5 separate regions of the Homo sapiens genome follow, and all the other regions are linked to region 4. The links are contacts of gene promoters, found by promoter capture Hi-C in blood cells and fetal thymus (Javierre and others, 2016). All regions are on one chromosome and are shown on one strand. The core of a region is centred on a gene start or on the middle of the fragment in contact, and the rest is flanking DNA. Distances in the headings are between cores, read along the strand shown. Region 1 overlaps LOC105376002 (a long non-coding RNA gene). Region 2 overlaps MOB3B (MOB kinase activator 3B). Region 3 overlaps LOC105376002 (a long non-coding RNA gene). Region 4 holds the start of IFNK (interferon kappa). Region 5 overlaps MOB3B (MOB kinase activator 3B).

The links. Contacts are between HindIII fragments. The CHiCAGO score rates a contact against its expected background, and 5 or more counts as called.
Region 1: a fragment that was not itself captured here is called in contact with the fragment with the promoter of IFNK in region 4 in 1 of 17 cell types (neutrophils); the score reaches 7.5 in neutrophils.
Region 2: a fragment that was not itself captured here is called in contact with the fragment with the promoter of IFNK in region 4 in 16 of 17 cell types (naive B cells, total B cells, M2 macrophages and 13 more); the score reaches 33.7 in naive B cells.
Region 3: a contact is called between a fragment that was not itself captured here and the fragment with the promoter of IFNK in region 4, in 1 of 17 cell types (neutrophils). The highest score is 7.2, in neutrophils.
Region 5: a contact is called between a fragment that was not itself captured here and the fragment with the promoter of IFNK in region 4, in 9 of 17 cell types (naive B cells, total B cells, M0 macrophages and 6 more). The highest score is 21.7, in naive B cells.

Annotation. Positions count from the first base shown.
Region 1 is chr9:27,683,146-27,688,050 of GRCh38, reverse strand. It overlaps LOC105376002 (a long non-coding RNA gene), which reads right to left. Exons shown (of 3, transcript XR_007061441.1): 3 at 3,842-3,887. Among named protein-coding and RNA genes, the nearest start is that of C9orf72, 110 kb to the right of the region's middle. RefSeq lists an enhancer at 3,661-4,860. The HindIII fragment of the contact is 4,418 bases long and covers 519-4,905 here.
Region 2 is chr9:27,348,845-27,353,307 of GRCh38, reverse strand. All of the region lies in intron 3 of MOB3B (MOB kinase activator 3B), which reads left to right. Among named protein-coding and RNA genes, the nearest start is that of EQTN, 54 kb to the right of the region's middle. The HindIII fragment of the contact is 6,818 bases long and covers 1-4,463 here.
Region 3 is chr9:27,667,559-27,671,831 of GRCh38, reverse strand. It overlaps LOC105376002 (a long non-coding RNA gene), which reads right to left. Exons shown (of 3, transcript XR_007061441.1): 2 at 2,710-2,811. Among named protein-coding and RNA genes, the nearest start is that of C9orf72, 96 kb to the right of the region's middle. The HindIII fragment of the contact is 1,618 bases long and covers 2,020-3,637 here.
Region 4 is chr9:27,521,796-27,526,489 of GRCh38, reverse strand. IFNK (interferon kappa) reads right to left here and starts at 2,200. Exons shown (of 2, transcript NM_020124.3): 1 at 1,529-2,200; 2 at 1-483. The coding sequence starts at 2,153. The coding sequence ends at 1,530. All of the region lies in intron 1 of MOB3B (MOB kinase activator 3B), which reads left to right. The HindIII fragment of the contact is 1,828 bases long and covers 897-2,724 here.
Region 5 is chr9:27,387,780-27,392,598 of GRCh38, reverse strand. The region is part of intron 2 of MOB3B (MOB kinase activator 3B); the gene reads left to right. Among named protein-coding and RNA genes, the nearest start is that of EQTN, 93 kb to the right of the region's middle. The HindIII fragment of the contact is 334 bases long and covers 1,718-2,051 here.

The DNA.
Region 1 (4,905 bases), core at 1,478-3,977, 160 kb before region 4:
TTCCATTTATAATTTGGCATTTTATTGACAGAGTCTGTTTTGTTAATCTTATAATCACTTTAATGCTGATCAGTTGTGGCTAAACTCAGAAAGGGAAGGGGTATAAACAGGCATGTCTGACCTCCTTTCCCATCATGGTTGGTAATTTAGTTTTTAAGGGTTTATTGGGTCCTCTTGGCCAAGAGGTGTTCATTTAGTCAGTAGGGGCTTAGGATTTTATTTTTAGTTTACAGTAGGAAGGCTGTATGCCACATTTTGGACCTTGAACCTTTCCAGCCAGCAATGGGGAGCCATCCTGTGGCTTTTCTAGCCTGAGAGGATCTAGAATTCGAAAAGAGCTAGACGCAGACAGAAGACTATTTCTATGATCCAGTAGAGAAAAAGCCGTTTCCTAAACTAAAGAGAAGACAATGAATTGAGTAATACTGAAAAGGTAAAGTTAACATGACTTGGTGTTCAATGGAGACACAGATAAAGGAGACTTGGCAGGAGATGATAGTCTATGAGGAAACTAAGCTTTTTTTTTTGGCAAAATTATAGGATATGATTTGAGGGATGTAACACTTATCTAGCATTTAGGATGTCCTACTGTGATTAATTTTGACACCCTTTTTACCACAAGATATTACTTTTTTAAAATGACGACTTGAGTTTTAAATGTATTGTAGATTCAGTCACATTACTTTAAGGTAGCTCCTGATATATGTCCTGTCTTTCCAAATAGTGTAAATTTTTCTCAGGCAGGAATTGGGTTCCTTATGTCCCTGGCACTGAGCACAAGACTTCCTCTTTGATTGCAGTTTTATTATACACAGACAACCCATTCCTGATCAAACACTTGGCTTCATAAATACGAAAGCATGGGAAAATCCCAAAGCATCAGTCCCAATAGTTTCATCCTCTATTTTCCCTCTTCTCATTTTAAAAATCTGAAATAATGTAAGATTTCAATGCCAATACTACAACAGAGAGCTCATTCATTTCTCAAGTTCTGGAATAACATCCTGAGTTACAGATCTTGGTGGTCCTTCTTAATGACTGATTAGAGTTCTTGTCTTTACCTCCTACTGATGATTACTTGTTTTGATAAGATGCTGAGTGCATTGACTTAGTACCTGTGTTAATTGCTTTATCCTGTTAGAATCTGATTTTCAGTGTGTTGAAAAGTTAGCTTAAGCCAGTGGTTCTCAGCCCTGGCTACACATTAATATCGCCTGGGATCCTTTGTAAAAGAGCAATGCCCAGGCTCCACCCCCAGGGATTCTAATGTAATTGGACCAAGGTGGATCCCAGGTATCAGTATGGTTTGAAAGCTCTGCAGTTGATTCTCATGTACAGCCAAGTTTGAGAACCACTGACTGAAACAAACCTAAATGGGTATTTCATTTTTCTGAATTCAGCTGCCGCTATCACACCAGTCGACCCAAGAAAAAGTGAATGAAAACTTTGATCATCTCATGTAAGTCTATCTAAAGAAATCTGACCTATCAGGAACACCAATAAGAATGAGGAAAGAATCCAAACCATCAAAAAAGTTGGTATGAAGTCTGTACAGAAATGTGCTAAAGTAGAGAGCTAGATTTGATGATTTTTAGAAACAAAAAAAACAGCTCTATTATTTTAGTGGTTACACGACATTGGAGAAGTTATTCTTGCATCTCAGTTTCCTCATCTGCCAAGTATGCATAAGTCTTCCTCATGAAGTTGTTAAATAGATTTAATGAAGGTCCTGTATTAATATACTTAGGAAATAGTTTGCTCACATTTCAACTTCTTTTGAAATTCCTACATCACTCAAGGCATACTATATTTCTCTTTTGCCACATTCTCAGCATTTGAAGGATTATTTTAACTAGTTAATCTAAGAGCATTTGCAACTTAATTTTATTTTTCTAATGAGTGCTTATCAAATATGTAGCACGATATAAATGAGTACATTGTAACTTTGTGGATATCTTAATCTCATGTGCATATTTTAAAATACTTTTATTTTCAAGGTAAGTCAACAAAGAAGTGCTAACCAAGAAAAAATAATCTGTCACACCCAACACTAGTGCCCAGTGTTATGGGTCACTGAACACTAATATTCATTGGGCAGGTTGATCACTTGACAAAGTGTCCTATCTCTGAAGAAGCCAGCACCTGGCTAGAGACCCACCTGCCACAATAAGCCAGGGGTTAAGGGTTTGAGCCACAGAGGCTGACCATATGAGAGCAGCTGGGTAGGCATAATCCCATGCCAATGGTAACAGACAGGTCTATGTTCTCAAGAGGCCCAGCAGGCTTCTAACCAGGTGAAGTAATACAACAATTCCTCACCAATGCCAACCACACCAAGTTGTGAAATAGCATGGCTTTGTGTTTCTATGTAAAATCATTAGATCCCACTCTTTTAAAATTCTGTTCTGTTCAATCCTCTTACAAAAATATGAAGTATGCCTGATTTTCATACCACAACTTCAGATGTTCAAAACTAGAGCTTTTTCTTAATAACTGAAGTTGATTTCTATCTCAAGCCCTTCATATTTCCTGATAGACAATTGATCTGGTCACTTCCAAGTAAACCCAACCACTTCAGTAATTTCTTGTTTCAGCATTACACTGAATCAGATTGTGAACTTTCCCCTTTCTCCCTTCTCTCTGCAGTTAATTCTAACTCAAGTGCTTACACAGTGATGTAGTATATATGAGAAAGTGTCTCTGTGGTTGTCCAGAGTTGACAACTCCTGATATATGCAATCATAACATCTTATACTTAGTGTTAACCCCCAAATGGGCTTCCACTGAAAGTGGCCAAATCCCAGAACTCATCTGGGTCTCAGATTGAATGGTTCACACCACCACTCGTGGTTGCATCCCCTTGTCATGACCTTGAGAACACTTTGGAAATCCAGATTTCTGCATCTGCTGAAAAGTTTACTTTTATTAGGGACATGTGGTAGTTGCTACCCTTCTTCTTGGGGCAATAGAACAATTAGGATCTGTGAACAAGCCCTCTCTTTGACACCAGTGCAGTAATTTCAGCTCTACTACCCCATGCTGAGTGGCCTGAGATCTTTGTGTGTCTCTCCCTTCCAGCCACCCAGATGGGAAACAGAACACAGATAGGGGAAGTTATGCTACAGTAATAAACAATACCCAAAAGATCAACAAAATTTTATTCCTCACTCATATAAAATCCACTACAATTCCAGAGAACTCTCCATGACCTCTGTCTTGATGTAAGAAGAAGCAGCAGGCTGGAAAGTCTAGCTCCAGTAATTAGATGCTTGGACATAGAAATGAGCCAAGTCACTTTCATTTACAATTTAGTGGCCAAAGCAATTCACAAGTTCATACCTATCTTCAAGGAGAAGTACAATGTCTCATATGCCCAGAGGAAGAGCAAGGCTTGAATGTTAGTGTGCTATATCAATATCTTCTATAGCACTGTTTCCTCTATACTTACACTTATCTGAGGGTCTAATAGTCTCTTTGCCTATCACTTGGCTCATTACTTATTGACCCAAAAAGGGGCTTATCCCTAAAACCAGTGTCTATTTCTCTTTATGTTTCCAAATTTTTTCCCTCTCTTCAGCTGGGAGCATCTTTATCTAGTGAGGGAAGAACAGAGAAGACAGATTATGGAAAGATTAATAGAAACTTTTAATTTTAAAGGTCAGGAATTTGACATTCATTTCTCTGTCCTCTTGTCAAGCTCCATTGTGCTATGTACTCCATCCCAAATCTCCTGATGTGGAATATCATCCTCACATGTCTTCTTACATAATGGGCCAGGGTTATGCGATGAAAAGTCAGTAGAAGTAGGTGAGTATCAATACTTCACATTTTTTTCCACCATCAATAATGTATTTCTCTTTTGTATACCACAAGTGGGTCAACTGGGACTGGATAGAGAAATCAAACATGTGTAATTTATCAATAGACAGACCGGAAAACATATCTGGAAAATGTGTACTTAAGTGTTGTGGTAATTGGTGAAGAGGCCAGCGATGATGCTACCATTTTTCTGGCATTTGCTGAAAATAAAAGGAAGGGAAATGGAAGTAAAAAAGATATTCAATTTTAGGCTAAGAAGCTCAGTATAAAACTTTAAAAAGTGGTGCCTTCTGAATAGCATAGCACTTATATGAGCACCTGTCTCAGCAAATCACAATGCCACGGTCATTTCTCCTTAATCATTGAAGGTGATTCAAGAGATGGGTTGCCCACCAGAGAGACGTTTCATGCTGAAGAATCTGATTTTAAAATATATTTAATAGCATTTTAGTTTTTATTTCTCTGGACCTCTGTGAATTACGACACTTCTGTTTTGCCCATTATAGTACTTTTCAGGATCTTAATCTCTGAGACTACTGTTCTTAAAGCCAGGAACTCAGAGAGTTATGACATCTAGTTTATCTATTGCTACAATTAAAATATGTAACAAACAACCCTACAGTTTCAGAGCCATACAACGATAAATTATTACGCTTACATATTGGGGACCAGCTGGGCGTCAGCAAGGTGGCTCTGCTGATGTTGACAGCGATTGCTTACATATCTGGGGTCTGCTGGGTGTGGCTAATCTACATTGATCTCGACTAGGGTGACAGGATACTCTGCTTTGGTCCATGTGTCACTATTCCTCCTGGGACCAGCAGTCTAGCCTGGGCATGTTCACACTGGCATTAACAAAGGCATGAGAGTGATAGAGCAGGCCCTGTCACAAACAGTTTTCAAGGCTCTGCTTCTATCACATCCGTTAATATCCTAGAGGCCAAAGCAAGTTACGGAGCTTAAAGCCAGAGTCAAGGCAAAGAGTGGATGCAAGGAGAGGCGAGAATCAAGGCTAAGACATGCTATTTACCACATCTAGGATTCTGTCCACCAAGAGGGCCTGGGCAGGGCTGGAGTACAGACTGG
Region 2 (4,463 bases), core at 1,000-3,499, 170 kb after region 4:
ACTTTAATGTGCATGTGAATCACCAGGGATCTTGCTGAAATGCAAGTTCTGATTCAGTACATCTGAGAGGAGGAGACTCGAGAATGTTCATTTTGCTCCCAGATGATATCGATGCTGCTGGTTCCCAGACCACACGTTGAGGGAAAAGACCCTAGATGACAATTACCCTCAAATGTGAGAATTACCATTTTTAGCACTTCATCTCTTCTCCTCTAGGATTGGGAGTTAGCTCAGTGGGGTGGGGAAGTAAAGCAAAAAGGAGAAAAATCTGAAGATCAGTGTTTGCCAAGAGAGCTCCTCAAAATGCCAGTCCTGAGTGATGGTCAGTGAAAACAGACTTCCTTCTGTGGTCAAATGAGTTTACAAAATACTACATCGTCTCCACCCTTGAAGATTTACAGTGTACAATAGCATATCAAAGCCTTTGAGAAGGTATCCAGTAAAGAAACTTGTTCAATTTTGTGTAGCCCGCCCAATTTAACTGCATTTGGCTACTGGACTTTTTTCTTTTGCTATCACTCATTGACATCTTAGAGATATCATGATCCATGGAACACACTCTGGGCAGCACTGCTCATCTTTGTGATGTGATGTGTCTCTAGATTTTTCTATTTTCCTCATGCCTCCACCCTGGCCTCAAACCACACAGCCACCACTGCCGCATGGAGAGGGAGGTGGGAAGGAAGTGAAACTCCATATGGGAGGGCTTCACACACACACAGGAAGTGCAGTCCTTTTCATTGTTGCTCCTCATCCTCCCACATCATCATATGACAGACACCCCTTCGTGGAATTCTTACCATGTGCATGACGCACAAGCATTTTCAAGAAATAATTAATAACTTCATTTCTTCAGTTCCAGATAATCTGTTAGTTCCTCTTGACATATATTATTTCATCTCCTCACACTTGTTACTTTTTTTTTTTTTTTTTTTTGAGACAGGGTCTCACTCTGTCACCCAGGCTGGTGTGATCATGGCTCACTGCATCCTCTAGCCTCCTGGGCTCAAGTGATCCTCCCACCTCAGCCTCCTAAGTAGCTGGGGCTACAAACACATGTCACCACACCTGGCTAATTTTTAAATTTTTTGTAGAGACAGGGTCTCACTACGTTTCCCAGGCTGGTCTGGAACTCCTGAGCTCAAGTGATCCTTCTGCCTTGACCTCCCAAAGTGCTGGGATTACAGATGGTACCTGGCCAGACTTGTTACTATTATTTCCAGCAGATGTGATGGGCAGTTTCTCAACATCTGAACCACATTCCTCTCCATCCCTTATCACTGCCATTTTGTCACACCAAAGTGCATGTCCCACCCCCAGTGTGTAGGTGCCTCTTGGCTAATGATTGAGATTTATGGTAGGCTCTACCACCAAAACTATCCTCTAAAAACGGGTGCTTTTTAGAACAATTTGAAGACCAAAGATTTGGAAAGCCTTGTCTCATAAAGGCCCAGCCACAAGCCTATCCAGGCCCCAGAATACACTGACCTCATGTTGCCCTAAGAGGTAGCCAGGCCACACATACACTTCTCTCAGAGTTGCTTGGGTGAGTGCAGCAGCCAAGGTTGGCCTGCAATGGTAAGATCAAGTCAGGACTGTGAAAAGAAGCAGAACCTCTCGCATGAGCCAGAGCTACTCCCTAAAGTAGCCAGCAATGAAGAGCCATTGTGGGGCTTTTGAAAGGACCTTTTCTTTTGAAACATCATCTGTACAGAGGCCTCTGGGTTGCTTCTTGTCAGGCGGCTTCCTTGGCCTTCAGCCAGAAGGCTTGATGTGGACTCAGCCATTATAGAAGAAAGAGCTGCAGCCTGTGAAGCTGACAGTTTGGCCTTTACAATGGCATTTCCACTATTATGCTACCACATTAGTTACCACATGGGGCAAGGCATGTAATGGCTCTGAGCCTCAGTTTCCCCACCTGTAAAAGACATCATCCCTAGAATCCTCCCAGCCTGACCTACAGAGATTACTGATGGGTCACTACTAAGATTACTGACCTACTGGGATTACTACTGATATGATGTGTCAGCAGCCCTGTCATCTTTCATCCAAGACAACCGTTTCTCTTTGCTTAGAGAGCCCTTCATGGATTAAAGCCCACTGTGGGCCAGGCGTGGTGGCTCACGCCTGTAATCCCAACACTTTGGGAGGCCTAGGCGGGTGGATCACCTGAGGTCAGGAGTTCCAGACCAGCCTGGCCAAAATGGTGAAACCCCATCTCTACTAAAAATACAAAAATTAGCCAGGCGTGGTGTCAGGTGCCCATAATCCCAGCTACTCAGGAGGCTGAGGCAGGAGAATTGCTTGAACCCAGGAGGCGGAGGTTGCAGTGAGCCGAGATCGTGCCATCACACTCCAGCCTGGGGCACAACAGCGAGACTTCGTCTTAAAAAAAAAAAAAAAAAAAGCCCACCATGGCAGCAGAGGGGCAGAGGGGGTGTACATGTTGCCAAGAGTAGCTGGAGTGTGCATTCATGGGGCTTTGCCAGTTCAGATGACAAGTATATGTGTGTCCAGGGTGGCATCGGCTGTTGGTGGTTGTTCAGGATAATGCAAAGGCTCAGAGATTAGTGGGAGGGCCTGCCAGATATCATTTTAGGAGACTTGGCAGATGTATTCTAAAGTGTCAATTGGAAAAATAGCAAAGAAACATGATTATTTCCAATGAATTGCCTTATGCTGGGTAACTGGGGATGTGGCAAAAATAGCCACATGTCTCTGCCAGTCCTATTTATTCATCCCTTGTTGATGTCCAGAGAACTTTTGCTTCTAGTTTATAGGGTGTTGGGTGGTTCATTTTTGTTTTAGGGTTTCTCTTTGTTTCTAATTTGGTCAGAGATGAGATGTGGTCTGATTTGTTTCAGGGCCTAAAATATGATCAATTATAGTTGAAGATGTCTCTCATGGGAAAATTGCTAGCATATAATATTAAGTAATAAAAGCAGGATACAAAACTGTACTGGAAAATCACTAATCATATGTCCACAGATGATAAAGGAAATAGAGCAAAAAGTGCCAACAGTGGTTCTCTCTTGGTATTACTATAGATAATGCTTTTTTTTTTTTTTTTTTGGTATATACTTTTTGGGGCTTTCTAAGTTTTCTGTCACAAACATGTGTCACTTTTCTAATCAGAAAAATCAAACTTTATACTTGAAAAGGCTTTTCCAACCACTTGTGACTACTGAGATTAACATTAAATTAAAAATTAGTTTCTTAGCCTTACTAGCCACATGTTAAGTGCTCAAAAGCCACATGTCTAGTGGCTATTGTATTGGATATCACAGATACTGAACATTTTCATCATTGTGGGACATTCTCTCAGACACCACTGAGCCAGAGGCTCTACCTTCAAGAGCTACTTTTTATAACCCACTCTTAACAACCACTCCCTCCACAAAGAGCTGCCAGATGTGTTCACATTGTCTCCATGCTGCCACATGAGGCATTTCCGTTCATTGTTTAAGCCCCCTAGTATGGTTGCTTCTCTTTGCTAAGCCACTTCTCTCCTACTTTATTGATAGGAATAAATAAAACTCAGTACCTTCTGCTCAACATTTCTCCCTAGATTTCCCATCAGAACCTCCACCTCAGGAAGCTGCTCAGTATCTTAGGGGAGCTGTTGGTCAGAGACACCAAATAGTAATTGTACTTTTTTATTTTTTTAATGTTCTCTGCAGTGTTGGAAATTGCTGCAGGATGTCAGTCACAGCAGGGATTAATTCGTCTTCATGAGCATTTACATGAAAATGTAAATAGTCAGTATGGCTTGATGCCCATATATAAGCCTGCCAAATTTTGGCTGCTATGTGTGGTCTAGACTAGTTTAAATTTCCCGGCCAGATAAGATTAGATTCTTTGGCTCCAAAAATGTCAAGCGAGTATTAACTTGGGGTTTGAATGAAGGAAGGTTTTATTTATTGAAACATAACATTATATTTTCTCCCACCACCCACCTGTCCCACCACAATAAAGGCATGAAGATAAGGCAGGTTACAGGCAGTACCTAGCCTAGGGACTTGTGTGGTCACTTGTGTGGTCTCAGGAGCACTTCCTCCTATGAAACAATTTTATACATAAAGGTCAGATATACAAACCACCAGCAAAGCCAGTTAAGCTATAATGTGGTACTGGAACATAATACTAATTAGTATTAATTCCAAGATGTTGGTGCTAATAGAGTCCTATTACATTGTGCATCTAAGTGTAAATGGACCAATAGACAAGAATAATGCCTGGAGGCAGATCTGGAAGAAGAAAGAGATATGCAGATAGCTCCATAGGGAACTTCCCAGAGTTCTTTGAATGGGCCATGTCCTCTCACCCCCAGGCCATTGTATGTACAACTCCTTTGGCTTCCATGTCCTCAGCTTAAGTCCTGCTCATCCTGCAAGTCTAGGCCTAATTGTCCGCTTCTCAGAGACAAACACCTTTCATTTGAAACGTTAGGTTTCTGCTGGCTA
Region 3 (4,273 bases), core at 1,579-4,078, 140 kb before region 4:
CTTTGCTGACAAACCAGATGTGTTCTTGTTGCCTCAGAGGGTATAAATCCCATTTGTTTTTTTAAGTCCAGCTCATGCCGTTAGCATTTGAGAGCTTGCACTACTCCCTCAAACATTTAACATTTTCTGTTCAGTTAGCACAGCATCGAGACTTCAAAAGCAGCTTGAAAATAAACTTGATTCCAAATATGATTTATAATGTCCCAAGAAACAGCTCATTTACCCAAGAAGGCTTCATCAATTATTGACAGATGTACCCTCTGAGGAGAAATAGCATTAATACTAGGAGACTGAGGGAAAAGCATGCCTCAACCCCATAAGCCAATTATCCAAGGTGATTTTGAGCATTAAATCCTTAGATATGCTTAATTTACTGTCCCTTGCCTATAAGCACAGGAAGAAGTATGAGAAGGGAAAAAAATGGTAACCAATTTAAGACTGCTTTTAAAAACAAAAAGAAGGCATAGCATCAAGGGGAAAATGTATTGGAGGGAATAAGTGGGTGTTGGACACATATGAGCTTATAGATTGAACATCCCTGGACTTCAAGCATTTTGCCCCCTCAGTGCAGAGCCAGCTACTACCCACCTGTTTTTTTTCAGTACAGAAATAATTGTGCTTACCTGTCTCTGGCCTAATAATTATAGCAGAGACTGATTTTATTCTCAGCATGTTTATTGTGGTCGGATTTTCTCAGTTTTCAGGGCAAAGGCCTTACTAAGGATGCTAGCATTATTTGCTTTAACATCAAGCTAGTGACAAGGCTATGCAACGTTTTGTAAAAAGCCAAGAGGCCAGTGTGAATCCAGCCCAGGGGGCTTGTAATCTGTGTTTGACATGCAAATATTAGAAAACCTTGGCAAGACTACAAGGTTTACATGCAAGGGAAGAAAGAAAATACATGAGGCCAATACATTTGAGAATGCTAATATATTTCTCTACAGTTTTCTCAAAAGGAGGAAAATAGGAGAGGGTTATTTTTCCTAAAATCCAAATTATAAGGCAAAAGGTGACCAATTATGACTACTTAGCTTTAATTTTCATGTACTGAGGAGTGTGTGTGTGAGTGTGTGCATGTGTGCATGCATGCCTACATACATTGCATGCATGTTTTGAATGAGTGTGCGTAGATGGAAATAAAATAAACTTGGGATAGTGAAGAGGTCTACCTATGTAAAAATTTTTGCATGATGAATTGAACATTTCTATATTCAGAAATAAACCCTGCCACACGAAACCTAAAAAATTACTACCCCGACTTAATGCAATCTATAAAGTACAGTTATAGAACATTCTAAAATTACCTGCTTATACCTCATGACCTGGCAGAATAATTATAGGCTAGATTCTTTCATCTTTTTTACACTCTTTTTATTGAGAATTAAGAGATTCACTGTATTGGGTTATTAAAAGCCTGACCTCTTATAGCATGCATTCTTATCCCATTATTAAGCTGTGTATATAAAATTCAGTAGGCCTTCACTTTTATAGCTTTAACTTCTAAATTTCAAATTCAAAATCAGCATTGAAGTGCCAGTTGGGTGCCAGGCACTATGCAAGTGCTTTTAAAGGTACTGCCACATTTGATCGACACCCAGATTCCTGGCCAGGAATATTCTGATTCCAATCTAGTAAGCATCCTACGACACCACAACCTTCTATCATTGCCTTGCCATCAAGTCTTGCAAGGATTTTAGACAGAGAATTGGAGGGGAGGAAATCAGCAAAGCCAGATCCATGTCTGGTACACCACTGGCTTTTTACTAGAAGTGTACGCCTTTATTCTTTGGAGACTCCAATTTCTCTTAACATAAAACTGAAGCAAGAATACAGAATTCTTGATCAACTCACAAAAACATTATCAAGCGTCTTAAGTACATTCACCCCTCTGAGGTTTCCTCGATGTTCAAGGTTTGAATAAACCATGTAACCTAAATAAACCATCAAATAAATGGTGTATCCTTGAACAACAGATAAGCTTTTTATTTTTAGATGGGGTCCCTCTGTGTTGCCTAAGCTTGTCTCAAACTCCTGGCTTCAAGCAATCCCCCACTGTCCGCCTTGCTGGGATTAAGGGCATGAGCCATGGCACCCAGCTGAGATGAGTTTTAACAACTAGTTATTTTAACAACGTTGCAATTGCTCAAAATCTTGTGTTGGGGAGAGGAGCAGTCCAGGGCACAGGGAGTCCTCTTTGGAATTGCCATCATCCCGAGAATGCATTCTTAACATCCTCAAATGTTCATTCTTTAAGGGATGGAAAATTTTTATCCTTTGGAAGCACATTTGAAACATCCAGAAGTTATTCAGAGCCAAGGGTGATAAAGTGAGGGATCAAATGGAATATGACTTTCTATAAATATAAGAGGTGACTATAAAGTAAAGTAACTCATTATCTTGAATAACTTGTAAGCTAGCATTGAAGACAATCGCAAAAGAAAATTCCAGAATATTTTGGGTATCTGTACTCAAGATATTTTAGGTAACTGCACACACCAATTCACAAAGTTACTTCTTCACAATAGTTAGATAGCTAAAACAGAGAGGAAAATATAAGAATACATTTCTTCTGTTAAGTAGGTAAGAAAACTGATTGGAAAGGTAAGCCATTGGCCTGGGCCATGTGTGTGTTTGCATATGTGTGTGCATGCCACACACAAATGGGAACTGCCCTCGTTCGACCATCATTTTGAAAGTTCTGCTACTTACCTCGTCTAATTATCTGAGCACCTGAATCTTGAGCATAGCTGTCATACCTCCTTAGAGCATGTTTATATCTTCGCATTCTGGGAGGGATGTAATTTTCTTGACCTGAAAAAAAAAAAAAAAAAAAGGAGTGATGTCACAAGCTCTGCTTTTAATTACAACTATGTACTCTCCAAAAGAGTAAAGCATGATTACATATACAAGGATACCTTGTTTTATTGTGCTTTATTTACTGCACTTTGTGAATACTGCATTTTTAATAAGTTGATGTTTGTGGCAACTCTGCATCCAGAAATTCTATTCAGGGACATTTTTTCGACATCATGTGCTCACTTCATGTCTCTGTGTCACATTTTGTCAATTCTAGCAATATTTCAAACTATTTAATTATTATTATACCTATTACTGTGATCTGTGATCAGTGATCTTTGATGTTATTATTGTAACTGTTTTGGGACACCACAAACCCCACCCATATAAAAGGATACATTTAATCAATAAATATTGTGTTTGTTCTGACTGTTCCACCAACCAAACATTCCCTGACTCTCTCCCACTCCTCAGGCCTTCTTATTTCCTGAGAAACAACAATGTTGAAACTAGGTCAATTAGTAACCCTACAATGACTTTGTCTTCAAGTGAAAGTAAGAGTTGCATGTCTCTCACTTGAAATCAAAGGTTAGAAATGAGTAAGTTGATTTGGGAAGACATGTCAAAAGCCAAGATAGGCTGAAAGCTAGACCTCTTGTGCCAGTTAGCCAAGTTGTGAATACAAGGGAAAAGTTCTTGAAGGAAGTTAAAAATGCTACTCCAGTGAACACACAAATGATTTTTTAAAAAATGCAAAACAGTCTTATTTCTGATATGGAGAAAGTTTGAGTGGTCTGGATAGAAGGTCAATCCAGCCACAACATTCCCTTAAGCCAAAGCTTAATCCAGAGCAACGCCCTAACTCTCTTCAATGCTATGAAGTCTGAGAGAGGTGAGGAAGCTGCAAAAGAAGAGTTTGAAGCTAGCAAAGGTTGGCTCATATGATTTAGGGAAAGAAGACATCTCTATAACAAAAAAAAATGAAGGTGAAGGAGCAGGTGCTGATGTAGAAGCTGCAGGAAGTTATCTAGAAGATCTAGCTAAGATAGCTGATGAAGGAAGCTACACTAAACAACAGATTTTCAGGATAGATGAAATTTCAGTATAGATGAAATAGCCTTACATTGGAAGAAGATACCATCTAGGACTTTCATAGCTAAAGAGGGGAAGTCGATGCTTGGCTTCAAAGCTTTAAGGGACAGGTTGACTCTCTTGTTAGGGCCTAATGCAGCTGGTAACTTTAGGTTAAAGCCAGTGTTCATTGATTATTCTGAAAATGCTAGGGCCCTTAAGAATTATGCTAAATCTTGAGCCAGGTGGTGTGGCACACCTATAATTGGGAGTCTGAGGTGAAAGGATTGCTTGAGCCCGAGAGTTTGAGTCCAGCCTGGCCATTACAGCAAGACCTCCATCTCAAAAAACAAACAAACATATTATGCTAACCTACCCTGCCTGTGTTCTGTAAGTGGAAGAACAA
Region 4 (4,694 bases), core at 951-3,450:
AGAACAGGCAAAGACTTTATTAGAGAAAGTCATGAAAAATAGCAAGTATATATTTTATGCTCAGTAGCTTGCATGTCCTAACTCCTTTACAAGCTTGTAGTACTATTTTTAATCTGGAACAACTCTGCTGATAGTTATTTTTACTAAATGGTTTGCACTAACTCATTTTATTGTCTGATCCTTCTGCTGATAGCCTGCATATACCATGATCCACAATTTGTTCTTGTTCTTTTAAACATCTCTTCTAACTTCTTGGCTGAAATTTGCCTCACTTTTATCATAAGACTTTCTTTGGCTATAACATTTGGGCCCTGCGCTTGGAATAATCTTGAATCTGAACAGTTTGGCAGCATGCTGTTAGTGGCATGAGCAGGAAATGGCTTCCAAGGGCAGAACCAGGTACATTTCAGATATATTTCACCCTTTTTTGGTGCATTTGCGTAGCCACAATCTCTGTTAATTCTTGCTTGAAGGTAGATGATTCTGAAATGGGGTAGATAGAGGTGCGAGAGGAAGAGAAAATCCATGTCAGCTAGGTGGTGAATTAATATAGATGAAGGGCCGTGCTAGAAAAGTAAATAATCTAGGTAGTCTGGCTGCAAAGTAACTTTTAAAAAGATAAAAGATATTAAAGTATTATGTATTATTGGAATAGCTAGTTAAATTAACTCACAGAATGTAGTCTTCTAACTAGGAAAATCTAATGTAAAATTGTTCCATATTATGACTCTGGACATTTTATTTCAGGCACATGAAAAACAGTAAAAGACAGATTCTGTACCATACTTTTCCACAGCATTTTCCATGCCTTTAGATGTAGGAATCAAACAATATACATCAGGAATGAAGAGTGTGCTACATTAGAATCACAGACTCTCAAAGGTTAAATGAAAGCTTAATGGTCGTCTAATTCAACCATCCATCCAATTTCACTATGGATCTTCACTCTTAAAGTAATGAAATACTATTCCACAAGCATCAATTCAAACAAACCAAGCTGAGAAGGAAATGGGCCAGAAATGTCAACCTTTTTCCCCCCGAGCAGGAGGGGGAAAATGCAAGAGTATTGACTCTAGGGAGCATGTATAAGCTCTTTTAATGTGCTGAATTTTCATAGGATAAGCAACCTTGGCAGCAAAACAGTTAAGTCATTGAAATGTTACCATTTTGCAACATTCTCTGCTCCCTATCCTCTAGCCATTGTCTTGGTGAAGTCCACAGGTGGTATATATAGCAAAGCTCTTTCAAAATGGCCACAGAAAAGAGCAAGAGAGAATAGAAGAAGACGGAGAGGGAATCTTATTCCTTTAAAAATGTCTTAAAGACTTTCTAAGGAGACTCTTGGTCACCCTGAGGATGGTTGGCATTACCTCTCCTTAGAGAGGTGAGTGTCCCTGATGTTCCGAGGCTACCAGTCCAACTGAGGACAGGCTTACAGGACAGCACAACAATCCTTAAAAAGAAGTTGGAGGAGGAGAAGGAGAAAGAGATTTCGGAGGGAAAAGGAATTTTAATTCCAAAAATATACCTTATTTCCTCCTGAATAGAGCTGTAAATTTGTAAAAGTAATACAAACATCTTCTGATTTCCACTCGGACAATCTCCCAGGCACAGTCACTGTATTTCTTTTCTTTCAGGAAATTGTCTATCCTGTGGAAATATCTCCTCAGTTCCAGGCTGCTCAGCTGGGGGACCCTGGCTTCTGAGGGTTTCATCTCATTCTCTTTCATTTCTTTCATGTCTTCATTTTCATTCTTGTCTTCCTCCAAGCATTGGTTCAGGTACTCTGCTTGCTGATCAAGTCCTATTTGGATTTGTTTGAGGTGTCTCTCTTTCCAATATTTGAAGGTGTGTTGGCTGAAGATGTTGAAGGCCTGTAGGGACATTTCATAGAAGGCCTTCTTGATGTCCCTCTTCATAGGTTGGGTGTATTGCAGAAACTCTTGGGGCAACTCAAAAGCTATGTTTTCTCGTAGACATTCTACAGGAAATGAATTGCTCATACTACTCAGATGTCTCAGATTTTGCCAGGTGACTCTTCTCAGGTGAACGTTCAGTAAGTTACAGTCCAGGGATAGGGTGCCAGCAATGAATATACCCATAAGGATCTCAAGCCACAAACACTTTTGAATCATATCAGGTTTGGTGCTCATTTTTTTTGCAAGCTAAAAAATCCAGAAGATGTGTATATGACAATGATGTTTTGAGTTTTCCTTCATGTGCCTTTATATACCTGAATATCTTCAGCAGGAGGAGTTTTCTCATTCGTCATTTCACAGTTAACCAAGGTTGCGGCCCCTTTCCTTTGCCTCTGAGGCTTTTTTTTTTTTTTTTTTTTTACTTCGGGTGACTATGCCGACTTTGGAAGTGATAACTTTTTTTTTTCCCTGAAAAATGAGCAAAGAATTACCATCGTGTTACCTTAAATGCCTGGATGATCCATCCCAGCACTAAGGAATCATCATAACAAGACTGATGCAGGGTATTTCAGAAAGCCAAAAGCTGTGAGTCCATGCACTCACTCACTCACTCACTCACCCAAATCTATTACATAAGAGGGAGTGATCCTTCATGAAAATATATTTTTTGTACCTGGTGCTATAGCCAAACATCCTGTCTCATTGAGTTAATCATAGACATTGACCAAATGACTGTGATTATTTGATTGCTAGGTCACCAGAGCACAGTATAGTTTAGGTTTTTCCAATTTTGTTAAATTAAGCTTCTATATTTGGATATTTTCTCTTTTTGATTTTTCTGGATCTCCAAAAAGATGAAGAATAGAGCTGGCACTTACTAAGTAGGAGACTAAGTTGGCTTGGTTTTCTGTTGCATTAGAAAATGTTGATAATCTCTAAATATCCTTTTCTTCAGTTAAATCCATCCTGGACTTAGCCTTCCATATGCCTCTGATACCTTTCTTAAAAGTCCTGGAGGGGGTTTTATATTTGAGAATATCTTTCTGCCTCATTAACTTCTCTCTTGTAGTATCATTTTCTTTTCTTTTCTTTTCTTTTTTTTTTTTGGTGCAGTTTAGGCAGTATTTTTAAACTTTTGCTTGATTGCTTGATTATTATATCTTCTTGCCTGGTGGTTCTGGATTCTGTAAAGGCTTTTGTTTGCTCCTGTGTTTGTTGTGCACTGAGGAGGTATGTGAGTAGGAAGTCACCCATTTAGCTAAGTGAATTCCTAGCTGGACCAATGTTACTGTGGTAATGATGGCTATCTATTGTTTATGGTTTTTACTTTGTTTGACCAAATAACCTTCCTCTGATTATGGTTAAAGCAAATGGATTCTTTTCTCCAGGAAAATAAAATGGATTGTCATTTTAAAAAGGTAGCTTATTATATCTTCTCAAGAAAAAAAAGATATACATTAATTTGCAATTAAGTCATTGTAAAATGGTAAATAGCCACAGTTCCACAAACATGGCAGACTTTGATTGAAAAGTTGGCTTAAAAAGTTCTTGTCTAAATCAGTTGACTGCACCAAAGGCTAATTGTGGGTAAGTGGGATTTCTTAAAATCCTGGCTTTTAGGAAAGGTTTCTTACGGAAAAAAATATATATATATATATTATTCTATTTGTTCCATCTACATAAATTCTTATTTCATGGGCAGATTTCTTGGGCTGACCAAATTTGGAAAACATTAAGAAAACAAGCCCTTTTATATAGCGTTATAAATTGACACAACCTTCCTAGAGAGGAAAGTGGTGATATGGATCAAAAGCCTTAAAAATGTACATAATATTTGACTCAGCGATTGATCCTCTAGGAACTGATTCCCCAGAAATAATGATGATGCCCTTAAAGACTTAGCTGTAAGGAAGTTTGTCACAGCAAAAAATGGAAAACAATTTTAATGTTCAGCAATAAATACTTAGTTAAGTAAGCCATCAGTAGAAAACATATATGTAAGCACTAAAAATTATGTGTGGGAATATATTTGGTCACTTGGATAGATACACTTTGTAGTTTAAAAAACAAGCTTATATTTGCATATAGAGGCTGATACCACTTTTGTTAAATATAGACATATGCATATATATATATATATATATATATATGAAAAAATGTCTTGATATATATGCAAAAATTTTGAGTCACTATCTCTAACTGGAAGAATAATGGGTGGTTTTTATTTTTATATTTTTATTTACCTGGATTTTTTAAGTTTTCTGTGGTGAGCAAGTATTTCTTTTTCTTTCTTTCTTTCTTTTCTTTTTTTTTTTTTTTTTTTTTTTTGTGAGACGGGGTCTTGCTCTGTCTCCAGGCTGGAGTGCAGTGGCGCGATCTCGGCTCACTGCAACCTCCGCCTCCCGGGTTCAAGCGATTCTCCTGCCTCAGCCTCACAAGTAGCTGGGATTACAGGCACGCGTCACCATGTCTCGTTAATTTTTTTGTATTTTAGTAGAGACAGGGTTTCACCATGTTGGCGACGACGGTCTCGATCTCCTGACCTCATGATCCGACCGCCTCGGCCTCCCAAAGTGCTGGGATTACAGGCGTGAGCCACTGTACCTGGCCAAGTATTTCTTATTTAATAAGAGAAGGCTGTTTTTAAAAGAAGATACATTAAAAAAGGAAAAATTATTATACATCTGAAATGGGATCAATACTATTTTATTTGTTTAAACATTTCTACTCTAGAGTATTTTGAAAGAAAATGTGGATTCTCCCTAAGGCTCAGTT
Region 5 (4,819 bases), core at 635-3,134, 130 kb after region 4:
TCTTTTATTCTGGGATTATAGCTTTCTTGTTTTTTTTCTTTTGTGGTGCAAAAATGCCCTTTTATGAAATGAGTGAGAGTTAGTGAGACTTTTTTAAGTGCCCTTTTGGCAACATAAACGTAGGCGACTTTATGTTGATCCCCTTGCCCAATTTTTAAAATTTCCTGGATTTTGAAACCCAGAAGTCTAGTCCTACTACGGTATACCATTTTGCTTTCCTCCAAATATTTGCAGATGTTTTAAACGTTCTCTTTGCATTATAGAATACTCTTACAACCTAGGGGCCTGCTATGCAGTTATTTCTCATTAAGCTTCAATGATGTTCAAGAATTACCTGTTCCCACATATGATAAAGAAAACTTGTTTCTTTATTTGAATTCCACCAAAAAATGGTTCTAAATAAGAATCCTCTAGAAAATGTATTAAAATATTAGATTCTGGAGCCCTGCCCTCAAAGATTGATTCAGTAGTTCTGGGTGAGACCCAAATTTGGATTTTTTGCAAGCCTCTGAGGGGATTCTGATGCTGCTTATATGGGGATAGTACTTCCAGGAACTCTTATAGAAAGGCATTGAATCTGATATGAAATTATCTCTCCTCTGCATTGAGAATTCTGTATTTTTGCCATAGAGACTTATAGAGGCATGGCATCATGTCAAGCTCAATTTTGTGAATTATATGAGATTTCTACATCTATTTTTGGTTAAAATACTGGAGCAGAATCATCTTATTTGCTTTAAGCACTTCCTCTCAAAATCAAATTAAGTAAAATTAATCTCTTCGAAGAAAAGCATTCTCTAAATTTGAAGTCACTTTTATGCTTAACTGAACATATGATACCTCCAAGCTGAATCCTGGGCCCGTCAGGGAAGTCTGAGTTCCGTATGTGACATCAGTTGGTTGCTATGGAAGTGTAGGCTGTGCTATAAATTCCAGCTCCACGCAGATTTCTCTTGATTGCAAGTCAATTGAGAATGATTTGTAATTTTTTGGATCACACTCAGAGATGCTATTTAGTGTAAACACTTACTTTCATTAAAATAGTTTAATAATTGATGTCTATGGTTTCCAAACGTTTTCAGCATCACATTTTGCACATGAATAGCACACTTCCAACAATAACATAACTCATTACATGACGGGATTATTGACCCAAGAGAGGTGAATCAGTTTATCCAGGACACAAAAATAACTTAAAAAGCTCTGCCCCCTTCCCCTAGGGACCTTTTAAGCTTTACCCACCACACCCAACCATTCATTTATATAAATAAACTTCACCAAGATCAGATATACTGCCAATATTTTAAAAAGAAGATTATTACTGAAGAATCTGCTGAGGTGAGAGGTAGGCAGTCGCCTCTGAATAGGATGTGCTCAGCCAAACACCATCCTGTGAACGTGGTACATTTAACCAAAGCTCTCTTCTTCCCAAGACCTCGTTTCAGAAAAGAGTAGGTGTGAGTAAAGGGTTCATGCCTTTGCTTCTCTACTTCTCTGCCTGACTAACTCAAACTTCAGAACTCCTCCAGGATTTTTTCTGATTTATTCTGTTCAGGCTGCTATAAGAAAATGCTGTAGACTGAGTAACTTGTAAACACAGTTTCTCACAGCTCTGGAGGCTGGAAAAGCCAAGATCAGGATGCCAGCATGGTCAGGTTCTGGTGTAGACTGCCAGTTTCTCAGTGTGTCCTCAGGTGGTGGAAGCGGGGAGGAAGCTTTCTGGAGCTTAAGGCTTTTATAAGGGTAATAATCCCATTCGTGAGGGCTCTGCTCTCATGACCTGATCACCACTCAAAGGCTCTACCTCCTAATATCACCTTGGGGGTTAGGATTTCAACATACAAATTTTGGGGGGACTCAAACATTCAGTCCATTGCACCCTCTGATTCCTTCAACTGGGTTAAGTTCTCCGCCCTTAGTCTCTCACTGCTGAACTCCAATACATATATTCTCACTATGGTGAAAGGATTTCGCCCTGATTGCAGGCTCTGTGATCAGACAGCCTGGCTTCAGATTACCTGTCTGCCAGTTACCCTGTGGGAACTAAAGCTTATGAAATGTTAGCAGTGTCTGGTACATAAATAATATTAGCAACTTGGCCGGGCACGGTGGCTCACGCCTATAATCCCAGCACTTTGGGAGGCTGAGTGGGGAGGATCACTTGAGGCCTGGAGTTCATGACCAACCTGGTCAACATGGCAAAACCCCGTCTCTACTAAAAATACAAAAATTAGCCACAGTTGTGGCGGGTGCCTGTAACCCCAGAGGAGGCAGTGAGCGGAGATCGCCCACTGCACTCCAGCCTGGGCCACAGAGTGAGACTCAGTCTCAAAAATATATATAATTAGCCAGGCGTGGTGGCATACACCTGTGATCTCAGCTACTCAGGAGGCTGAGGCAAGAGAAACGCTTGAACTTGGGAGGCGGAGGTAGGCGGAGGTTGCTGTGAGCCAAGATCACACCACTGCACTCCAGCCTGGGTAACATAGCGAGACTCCGTCTCAAATATATATATACACACATATATATTTTATATATATATATGCAACTATTGAAATATGATTTAGGAAATTGGTGATTTAGGAAATTGGTGTACTTCTACTTTCATTCCAAGTAACAACTTTTATTTTATTTTTATTTTTAATTATTTTTTTAGCAGATGCTTAGAGTGGAGGGTTGTGAAAAATTCAGAGGCCATATCCAGGATTAAGAGGGAAAGACTGGAGATCAAGTGGTGATGTCTCCTCGGTCTCGGTCCAGGCTGGAAATGGGAGCTGTATGCCACATATTTTCTCTTTCTGCACTAGACTAAAAGTGACTTAAAAGTGCTAATTCATTCAGGCCTTTAATTTATTTACTACTATGTACCAAGCACTGTGGTTTCCATAGCATATACATTAATGAATAAAACAGACAGAGCCCTGGCCTCAGGGAGCTAATGGACTAGTGAAAGAACCGGATAATCATAAGGAAGCTAGAAAATAAAGACAGAATACAACTAGTGATGGGGAGTGCTGTGAAGAAAACCATGATTATAGCCACAAAGAATCGAGGGTGGGTCAGAAAGCTACATTAGAAAAGGTGGTCAGAGGAGGCATCTCAAGAGAGATGGGAAAAGTGTCCGAGCAGTGAGAACAGCGCATGCCAGGACCTGAAGTAGAGAAGCTCTCGGCATGTTCAAGTAATTGGAAAGAAGCCCATTTGGCTGCAGCGTAATCAGAAAGAGGAGTGGAATGAAACGGTGGGGTCGCAGGGAGATAGGCAGGAGGCAGAGCACATAAAGCAGTGGTTCTCAGCCTCAAGCATGTATCCCAACTCCCCAGAGAGCTTGTGAAAACACAGATTGCTGCCCCACTCCCAGAGTTTCTGATCCAGTAAGTTTGGGGTGGAGCCTGAAAATTTGCATTTCTAACAAGTTCCAAGTGATGCTGCAGGTCTGGGGACCACTCTATGAGTACTCCTGATATAAGCCTTTTTCAGTCCACGGCAAAGGGCTTGGATTTTATTGGAAGCATTAGTGGGATACCATCAAAGGAGGTCAAGAGTGATAGCTTTAATTATTATTTTTAAAATGATTACTCAGACCATTGTGTGGAGAATTCATTAGAAATTGTCAAGACTAAAAATGGGGAGGCTATTCAGAAAGTTGTTTACAGTGGTCAGGCGAGGGCAGTGGCAGTAGAGGGAAGAGGAAACTTTCAAGATGAATTTAGGAGTGGCATCGATAGGATCTGCCTGTGGATTATGGAATGGGTAGGGAAGAAGACACGGAGGATGTTGACTGGGTTTCTGGCTTGAGAAAGGGAGATGGCCAAGGCACGTACTGAGATGGGGGAGATTGAAGGCAGGAACATGCTTAGAAGGGAAAGGAAAAGAATATATTCAACATGTGTTAGACAGGTTAAATTTGAAGAATCATCTCCGAAGACTCAGAGCCTAATAAGAATGATACATTGGACTTTGGGGACTTGGGGGAATGGTTGGGGGTGGCGAGGTATAAAAGACCACACCTTGGGTACAGTGTACACTGCTTGAGTGATAGGTGCACCAAAATCTCAGAAATCACTGCTGAAGAATTTATTCATGTAACCAAACACCACCTGTTCCCCCAAAGCCTATTGAAATAAAAGAGAAAAAAAAAGATACTCTGAGCCTAGTATATATAGACATTTCAATGAGTGAACTAAAAATAAAGGTAATAACCCCCTGGTCAGTGCTAATATGAAAGCTGTATGGGTGCTTGGGGACCAAGCCAGCTCCTCAGCCTCTGTCTCTGGGAGCTGAGAGTGCTTAGTAATAAATCATTGCTGCATCACCAGAGTAGCCTCCTACATAAATCATTTTAGACGCAAATCAGTCACCTTTGGAAACTAGATTAGCTCTTGGGTACCTGGAAGTTAACGGTATGTGCAACCTAAAGTGGAAGCTCCTTTGGAAACAAGGTTTTTCCAAGGTTTATCCTAACACTGGGTTTTTAAACTTTGGTACTATTGATGTTTGAGCTGGATAATTCTTTGCTATGGGAGGCTGTCCTGTGCATTGTTAAATGTTTAGCAGTATCCCTGGCTTCTGCTTGCCAGGTGCCAGTGGTAGCTGACTCCCAATTATGACAAGCAAAAATGCCTTCAGCCATTGCCAAATGTTGCCTGTGGGGGGCAAAATCATTTCTAGTTGAGAAACATGGCTGTAAGAGGACTCTGACATGTTAACCCCTTGTGGTACCCCTTGCTGCGAGACAAACTCTCTTCTCCATTTAATGTACTGTCCTTGTTTTCCATCCTAGCCTCTCAGAGCCTGTACTTTCTGTCTTTCAAGGTGA